2 separate regions of the Homo sapiens genome follow, and region 1 is linked to region 2. The links are contacts of gene promoters, found by promoter capture Hi-C in blood cells and fetal thymus (Javierre and others, 2016). All regions are on one chromosome and are shown on one strand. Each heading gives the region's core, a stretch centred on a gene start or on the middle of the fragment in contact. The rest is flanking DNA. Distances are from core to core; before and after follow the strand shown.

Region 1 (3,999 bases), core at 110-2,609, 370 kb after region 2:
CTGTCCCACCAATACAGAAATCCACAGCAATAGCCCAAGCAGCAAGTGCCAAATGGTACTGTCAAGGCAGGGTAAAAATCTTGCTGGAGTAATGAAAAGAGATGAGATCTAACCATCATTTCCTCTTCTACTCTATCCCTTTCCAAATCCCCATCCTAGTTGGATTATAACCATAGCAGTTCCTATTAAATGTGCAGGAAAATCATATTTCCTAGCCTTATTTATATTTTGGTCACTTGAATTGTAGACAAAGTAGTGTGGGCAGATGTGATACAAGCGAATTTCAGGACTTACCATTAAAGGCATTCTATGAGCTCCTTTAGCCTTCTCTTCTCCCACAACAACCTTGAGAACCTTGCGATGGTGGCATCACAAGATAGAAGGAGCTTTAATCTCTAAGCCAAACTCTGTATGAGTGAAACACCAAAAATTATTTGGGTGTTATAAGTGCAAGATAGTCTCTCCTATCCTGGTACACAACTTAAAGAGATTGCCAGCCTACTTCCCTCAATGCTGACTAAAGGAGTTCCTTGTTGCAATAACAACAAATGTCAACAGTGATTCTGTGGTGCCTGAGACTCAATAACCTCCAGCTCACCCCACTTCCACTTGTGAAAATACACACACACATACACACACACAAACACACACACCACACACTTCATGTTTTAGACCTTGGATGTGTCTCTGTTCTGCTGCACCACCATTTCCAAACCCCAGATATGAGGAGAGATAGTATACAATGACTCTGTATAGGTTAAATAATTAACTACACTTAAAAAAATTCAAATTATTGAATACATGAATAGACTATACAGTGTTAATTGATCACCTCTTTGGGGGAAATGCACCATTTCATTTGAACAGCAAGCAGTCTCTAAGAAGCAGGAAAAGGCAAGAAATAGATTCTCCCTAAGAGATGCTAAAAATCCCCAGCCCTACTGCCATTTTCATTTTAGCCCAGTGAAAATTATTTCACATTACTGACCTCCAGAACCGTAAGATAATAAATTTGTGTTGTTTTAAGCCACCCAATTAGTGATTTTTTACAGCTGTTACAGCAGCAGTAGGAAACTAATACATATGCCTTATGAGTTCCCTAGCTCTCACAGCACCTCATATATTCAGAGACATTTTCAGCTTCTTACAAAACAAATTCAAAAGAGGCAGCATCACAGTCAAGAATTAACTGGACACTGAATTCTTAATAATCAGGAAGCTGCCAAAAATCTTATCTCCAAACTCCCAAGGAGTATTTCTCACACTACCCAGAAAGGAGTCCTAAGCCAGCATGTTAGCTGAAAGGTAAAACACTTTCCCTTTTTTTTTGAAATAGGATCTCACTCCACTGCCCAGGCTGGTGTGCAGTAGTGCAACCATGGCTCACTGCAGTCTTGAACTCCCAGGCTCAAGCAATCCTCCCATCTCAGCCTCCTGAGTTACTGGGACTAAAGGCATGCATGCACCACCACACCCAGTGATATGGTTTTGCTGTGTCCCCACCCAAAAGTCATCTTGAATTGTAGCTCCGATAATTCCCTCATGTTGTGGGAGGGACCCAGTGGGAGAAAATCGAATCGTGGGGGTGGTTTCCCCCATACTGTTCTCGTGGTAGTGAATAAGTCTCATGAGATCTGATGGTTCTATAAGGGGGAACCCCTATTGCTTGGCTCTCACTGTCTTCTCTTGTCTGCTGCCTTGTGAGACGTGCCTTTCATCTTCTACCATGATTGTGAGGCCTCTCCATCCACGTAGAACTGTGAGTCCACCACATGGAACTGTGAATCCATTAAACCTCTTTCTTTTGTAAATTGCCCAGTCTTGGGTGTGCCTTTATCAGCAGCATGAAAGCAGACTAATACAGCAAATTACTACCAGCAGAGTGGGGTGCTGCTGTGGATACCCAAAAATGTGGAATCAACTTTGGAACTGGGTAATACTCAGGGGTTGGAACAGTTTGCAGGGGTCAGAAGAAGACAGGAAAATGTGGGAAAGTTTTGAGCTTCCTAGAGACTTGTTGAATGGCTTTGCCCAAAATGCTGACAGCAATATGGACAATAAAGTCCAGGCTTAGGTGGTCTCAGATGGAAATGAGAAACTTGTTGGGAACTGGAATAAAGGTGACTCTTGTTATGTTTTAGCAAGAGGCTAGAGGCATTTTGCCACTCCCTAGAGATTTGTGGAACTTTGAACTTGAGAGAGATGATTTAGGGTGTCTGGCGGAAGAAATTTCTCAACAGCAAAGCATTCGAGAGGTGACTTGGGTGCTGTTAAAGGCATTCAGTTTTATAAGGGAAGCAGAGCATAAAAGTTCAGACAATTTGCCGCCTGACCACATGATAGAAAAGAAAATCCCATTTTCTGAGGAGAAATTCAAGCCGACTGCATAAATTTGCATAAGTAATGAGGAGCCAAATATTAATCCCCAAGACAATGGGGAAAATGTCTCCAGGGTATGTCAGAGGTCTTCACAGCAGCTGCTCCCACTGCAGACCCGGAGGCCTATGAGGAAAAAGTGGGTCAGCCACAGGGGTCCTGTGCTGTGTGCAGCCTAGGGACTTGGTGCCCTGTGTCCCAGTTGCTCCAGCCATGGCTGAAAGGGGCCACCATAGAGCTCAGGCCATGGCTTCAGAGGGTGCAAGCCTCAAACCTTGGCAGCTTCCATGTGGTGTTGAGCCTGCAAGTGCATAGAAGTCAAGTATTGGGGTTTGGGAACCTCTGCCTAGATTTCAGAGGATGTACGGAAATGCCTGGATGTCCAGGCAGAAGTTTGCGGCAGGGTGGGGCCCTCATGGAGAACCTCTGCTAGGGCAGTGCAGAAGGGAAATGTGGGGTCAGAGCCCCCACACAAAGTTCCTACTGGGGCACCACCTTGTGGAGCTGTGAGAAAAGGGCCACCATCTTCTAGACCCTAAAATGGTGTAAGTACTGACAGCTTGCACCATGTGCCTGGAAAAGCTGCAGACACTCAATGCCAGCCTGTGAAAGCAGCTGGGAGGGAGGCTGTACCCTGCAAGAACACAAGGGCAGAGCTGCCCAAGACCATGGGAACCCACCTCTTGCATCAGCGTGACCTGGATGTGAGACATGGAGTCAAAGGAGATCATTCTGGAACTTTAATATTTGACTGCCCCACTGGATTTTGGGCTTGCATGGGGCCTGTAGCTCCTTTGTTTTGGCCAATTTCTCCCCTTTGGAATAGCTGTATTTGCCCAATGCCTATACCCCCTTTATATCTAGAAAATAACTAATTTGCTTTCGATTTTACAGGCTCATAGGCAGAAGGGACTTTCCTTGTAACAGTTAAGGCTTTGGACTGTGGACATTTGAGTTAATGATGAAATGAGTTAAGGCTTTGGGGGACTGTTGAGAAGGCATGCTTGGTTTTGAAATGTGAGAACATGAGATTTGGGAGGGGCCGGGGTGGAACGATATGGTTTGGATGTGTCCCCACCCAAATGTCATCTTGGATTATAACTCCCATAATTCCCTCATGTTGTAGGAGGGACTCAATGGGAGATAATTGAATCATGGGGGTGGTTTCCCCCATACTGTTCCAGTTGTAGTGAATAAGTCTCACAAGATCTGATGGTTCTATAAGGGGAAATCCCTTTCACTTGGCTCTCACTGTCTTCCCTTGTCTGCCACCATGTGAGATGTGCCTTTCACCTTCCACCACGATTGTGAGGCCTCTCCATCCTCATGGAACTGTGAGTTCACTAAACCTCTTTCTTTTGTAAATTGCCTGGTCATGGGTATGTCTTTATCAGCAGCATGAAAGTGGACTAATACACCCAACTACTTTTTAAATTTTTGGTAAAGATGGGGTCTTGCTATGTTGCCCAGGCTGGTCTCAAACTGCTGGGTTCAAGCAATCCTCCCACCTCAGCCTCGCAAAGTGCCGGGATTACAGACATGAGCCACCACACCTGCCTGGTAAAACACTTTCTAAACAGAGTTCTCTTTCACTCAGTCACTTCCTATAACCAGTTCAGAGAT
Region 2 (3,942 bases), core at 1,243-3,742:
CGACAGGAGGCGCTGTTTTCGTGGAAATCCCCCGGCTGCGAACCTGGGATCCCTGACCTGGATCAAGTCTCCGAAGCTGGCAGAGTCCATTCTGCATCACCGGTCTTGGGCTTTGAAGAAGCCTAGGAGAAATTCCGCTTCGGCCATCACGCTATGAAAAGTGGATTTTTTTTTCTTAAGTCAATTTTTTTTTTTTGAAAATATGAGACTTAGTAGGTTTGGGAAGTGGGCTAAAAGAACATTTGATATTGTAATTGACCCCCCCTTTAAGGTGACAGTGTTTTTCCCCTACTTAAAGCGCCAACTTTTTTGTGCACTATAAAAGCTATTACTATCCATAAATTGTTACTCTCGGTAGAAAATAACCTAGTCTTGCTCGGTGTTATTGAAGAGCCAAGAGGGTATTGGAGAATCACCTCCAGAAGGAACAAGGAAGCTCATTAGCACTGAAAGTCCCCCGGATCAGGCCCAGGAAGCTAAGCATCCGTATACTTTACAAATGGAACTAAAGTCAGCTACTAATGGGAACTTTGCACAAAAGAATTAGTTTCTGACACACAATTCGCAGATACATTTACACAAACTGATGGGACAACTTGCAGTCACAGGAGCAGGCTGCATTAGGGAGGGTTCCTGCCCTACTGAGTTCCAGGTGGATTTAATTTCACTCATTCCTTTCCTTATGATGTGACGTTTCTACCCCCCCACCCTTTTTGTAAAAAAAAAAAAAAAAAATGTAATCCAATGCTTTTATCTTTTTTTATTTCCTTAACTGCACATCTTCACCCTCTCTGCTCCCCTGCTGACTTAAGAGATTTGTTTGGTTCAGGGATTTAAAGTGATTCTCTTGCCAGATTTCAAGTAAAAGAGATTTAAAAGAACAAAGCACAGGGAAAAAGGTATCTGTTTGGAAGACAAGTTAAAACACATTTCTTAAAATGAGATTAATAACATTTTAAAAACTTTGCAAAACAAGAAGATTTTGCGGATTCTTAATTACTTTAGATTTTATTTTATTGTTACTTAAGGAAACCTAGTGGTTCTACAGGCAGTACAACAAACACATGGTCACAGACACTCAGAAACACACACAGTCACACATGCTCAGAAATATACAAACGGTCACACACTCAAAACACACGCACCATCTCCCAATCTATCACCAACTAATTGCCTATCACCCGGTCACTTCAGTTGTTCTCTCTCCCAGGACAAGTGGGCAACCACCACCCAGGGCCTCATGAGAGTAAAGAGACTTTGCGTTGGGAAGACTCTCCCACCGACGTCCAGGACCGATTAGGAACCAAGCGAGCCCCTGAGATCTCAGCCCGGACCCTCCGGGTCACAGACAGGACCAAGCGCCGCTGCGGGCAGTCTCGGGCTTCTGCCTGGCATCTCTTTCGCAGTGCAGATGCGTTCCCGCGCCCAGGCCCTTGCTCTCCCAGCTAACGCGCGTGTTATGGGAGATGTCCCCTCCCCCTGACCTTTTCCTATCAGAAACCAGACGGTCGTCTCCAGCTCACTCCCTGAAGCGGCTGAAGGGGGGCGGGAGGAGGAGCCCGGCAGGGGGAGGACGGCCCGACTTGGGTCCGCCTGCCCTATCACACAGACATCTGCTCTCAGTTTCTTCCTCTTTGTGGTCGCTACAGATGACAAGGGGAGAGGAGCGGACCGAGGCGGAACAAAAAAAAAAAGTTATGTCATAAAGATATAAACCGGTGCTGTGACTCACCTGCTCTTAGCCGCAGGTACGAGTTTCGTGGCAGCGCCTCCGCTCTGCTAGCCCGGGGCCCGGGTCGGCCTAACGTCACTTGGCTCGGCTGACTCAGATGACCCGGTTTCTAGTGACGAAGCAAAAGTGGGGCTTTTTCCCTTTTCTAGTCTGAAGCTCTCAGGAGGAAAGAAAAAAAAAAGTCTGTATTCTCCAGTCTCCCGGGGTTGAACTTTGGGTCAGGAATCAGGAGGGAGGAAGCAAAGAGCAGGAGGGGCGCGAGACTGGGCCGCAGCCCGCGCTCGGAAGGTGGCGTGTACCTCTGGGGAGGGACCCCGGGGTCAGTTATCCCACAAGGTCTCTAAGCCCAGTCTCCGACGCCACCGCCCCCGGCCTTCTCCGGCTGCGAGGTTCCGATCCAGAGCCCTAGCCCGCCCGCCCGCCTGGCCCCGCCTATTTTTTCTTTTTCCAAAGGGGGTTACACCCCCTCCCTCCCCATTTCCCTCTTTCCCTAGCCTCCGGGCCTAAACCAATTACACTGCTTTGCAAACAAAGTGAGGGCCCCGCTTGGGGGAGGGGTCGCGGGGGAGGGGTCGCGCGCAGCGGTGAAGCGGCGGGGCGGGAGGCGCGGCGGCCGGACTGGCGGGCGGCCGCCTTGCAGGTGCACCTCGGGCTTTGTAGGTGCGAGCGTCTTTGTGCGGCGGACAAATGGGGAGAGGACGAGGAGGTGGGCACTCAAGCGACGTAAGATCCACATCAGCTCAACTGCACTTGCCTCGCAGAGGCAGCCCGCTCACTTCCCGCGGAGGCGCTCCCCGGCGCCGCGCTCCGCGGCAGCCGCCTGCCCCCGGCGCTGCCCCCGCCCGCCGCGCCGCCGCCGCCGCCGCGCACGCCGCGCCCCGCAGCTCTGGGCTTCCTCTTCGCCCGGGTGGCGTTGGGCCCGCGCGGGCGCTCGGGTGACTGCAGCTGCTCAGCTCCCCTCCCCCGCCCCGCGCCGCGCGGCCGCCCGTCGCTTCGCACAGGGCTGGATGGTTGTATTGGGCAGGGTGGCTCCAGGATGTTAGGAACTGTGAAGATGGAAGGGCATGAAACCAGCGACTGGAACAGCTACTACGCAGACACGCAGGAGGTGAGAGGCAAGGCGAGGCGGGCGGCCGGTGGGGCGCCGCTGGAGCCCGTGCCGGGGGAGGCCGGGGAGCGGTGGGCGCCAGGCAAGGCAGGCAGGCGGGCCGGGGGCGCCTTCTCGGTGCCACCGCTGCCCGCCCGCCGGTGTGGCCCCGGCCGGGCCTTGGCCGGGCCTGGAAGCGGGACCTGCTGCCCTGCTCTGTCCCGACTCTCGCAGCCGGAGAGGGAGTTTTAGGAAACTCCGGGCTTTGAAAACAGCGGCTCTAGGAAGCGCTTGCCTCTTCCCAGCAGCGAGCGGGAGCAGGAGCCGGGCCCGGGGTGCAGCGGGCGGGCGAGCGCCGGTGCGAGTTGGAAGCAACTCTGAGAAAGCCGGAGCATACCCACAAGGCGACCTCTTCGTCCCACCGTTTAATTCGCAGACGTCTTCTGATTAAAGCGCTCTGCCGCCAAGTTGGGTGTCTCAATAATGAAACGATTTCTAAATTTTGTAAAACTTGTTCTTCAAAAGCCCTATTTGGGGAGAAGTGTGCTCCTTCTCTAAAACCGCTGGGTGGCGCTAGTGCGACCAAAATCTTCTTCACAACTCTGGGCCGAGAACCTGTTTCTCTTCATTGTCCCCTTGGTGGCACGTTCATGGGGGTTATTTTTACAATGTGCACAAAAGGATTACAGGGAAAACCAGTTACAGGGAGGACTACCACCTATTAAAAGTATTTTTCTGGAAACAGCTGGCGATTACCCTCCAAAAGTTTAATTACCATTATTGAAAACGCGTATTGGAACTGCCTTGGATAATCTTGGGAAGAGGGAAAGAAAATAAAGCCCCAAGGTAAAAAATACTTTTAAGACGTGGACAGAAAAATATAGGATCACGTAATATTTTGATGGTAACTGACTTATTTAGATTTATGTATTCACAAGTTTACCTCTGAGTTTATTTGCATACCATAGTTTACTGGGTGTTCCTATTTAAATCTATTTGTTCTCATATTTTCAAATTGAGTCATACTTGCTGATTAAAATAAACTTAAGGACATCATTATTCCTTATTAAATTACCAGAGGAGTGCTTTTTAATATGCCTAGGTTTTGTATGTTTAAAATACT

The links. Contacts are between HindIII fragments. The CHiCAGO score rates a contact against its expected background, and 5 or more counts as called.
Region 1: a fragment that was not itself captured here is called in contact with the fragment with the promoter of FOXA1 in region 2 in 1 of 17 cell types (megakaryocytes); the score reaches 5.1 in megakaryocytes.

Annotation. Positions count from the first base shown.
Region 1 is chr14:37,224,134-37,228,132 of GRCh38, reverse strand. All of the region lies in intron 1 of MIPOL1 (mirror-image polydactyly 1), which reads right to left. Among named protein-coding and RNA genes, the nearest start is that of MIPOL1, 28 kb to the right of the region's middle. The HindIII fragment of the contact is 7,955 bases long and covers 1-3,999 here.
Region 2 is chr14:37,593,799-37,597,740 of GRCh38, reverse strand. FOXA1 (forkhead box A1) reads left to right here and starts at 2,492. Exons shown (of 2, transcript NM_004496.5): 1 at 2,492-2,840. The coding sequence starts at 2,769. TTC6 (tetratricopeptide repeat domain 6) reads right to left here and starts at 2,112. Exons shown (of 33, transcript NM_001310135.5): 1 at 1,733-2,112. RefSeq lists enhancers at 984-2,183, 1,697-2,556. The HindIII fragment of the contact is 10,101 bases long and covers 1-3,942 here.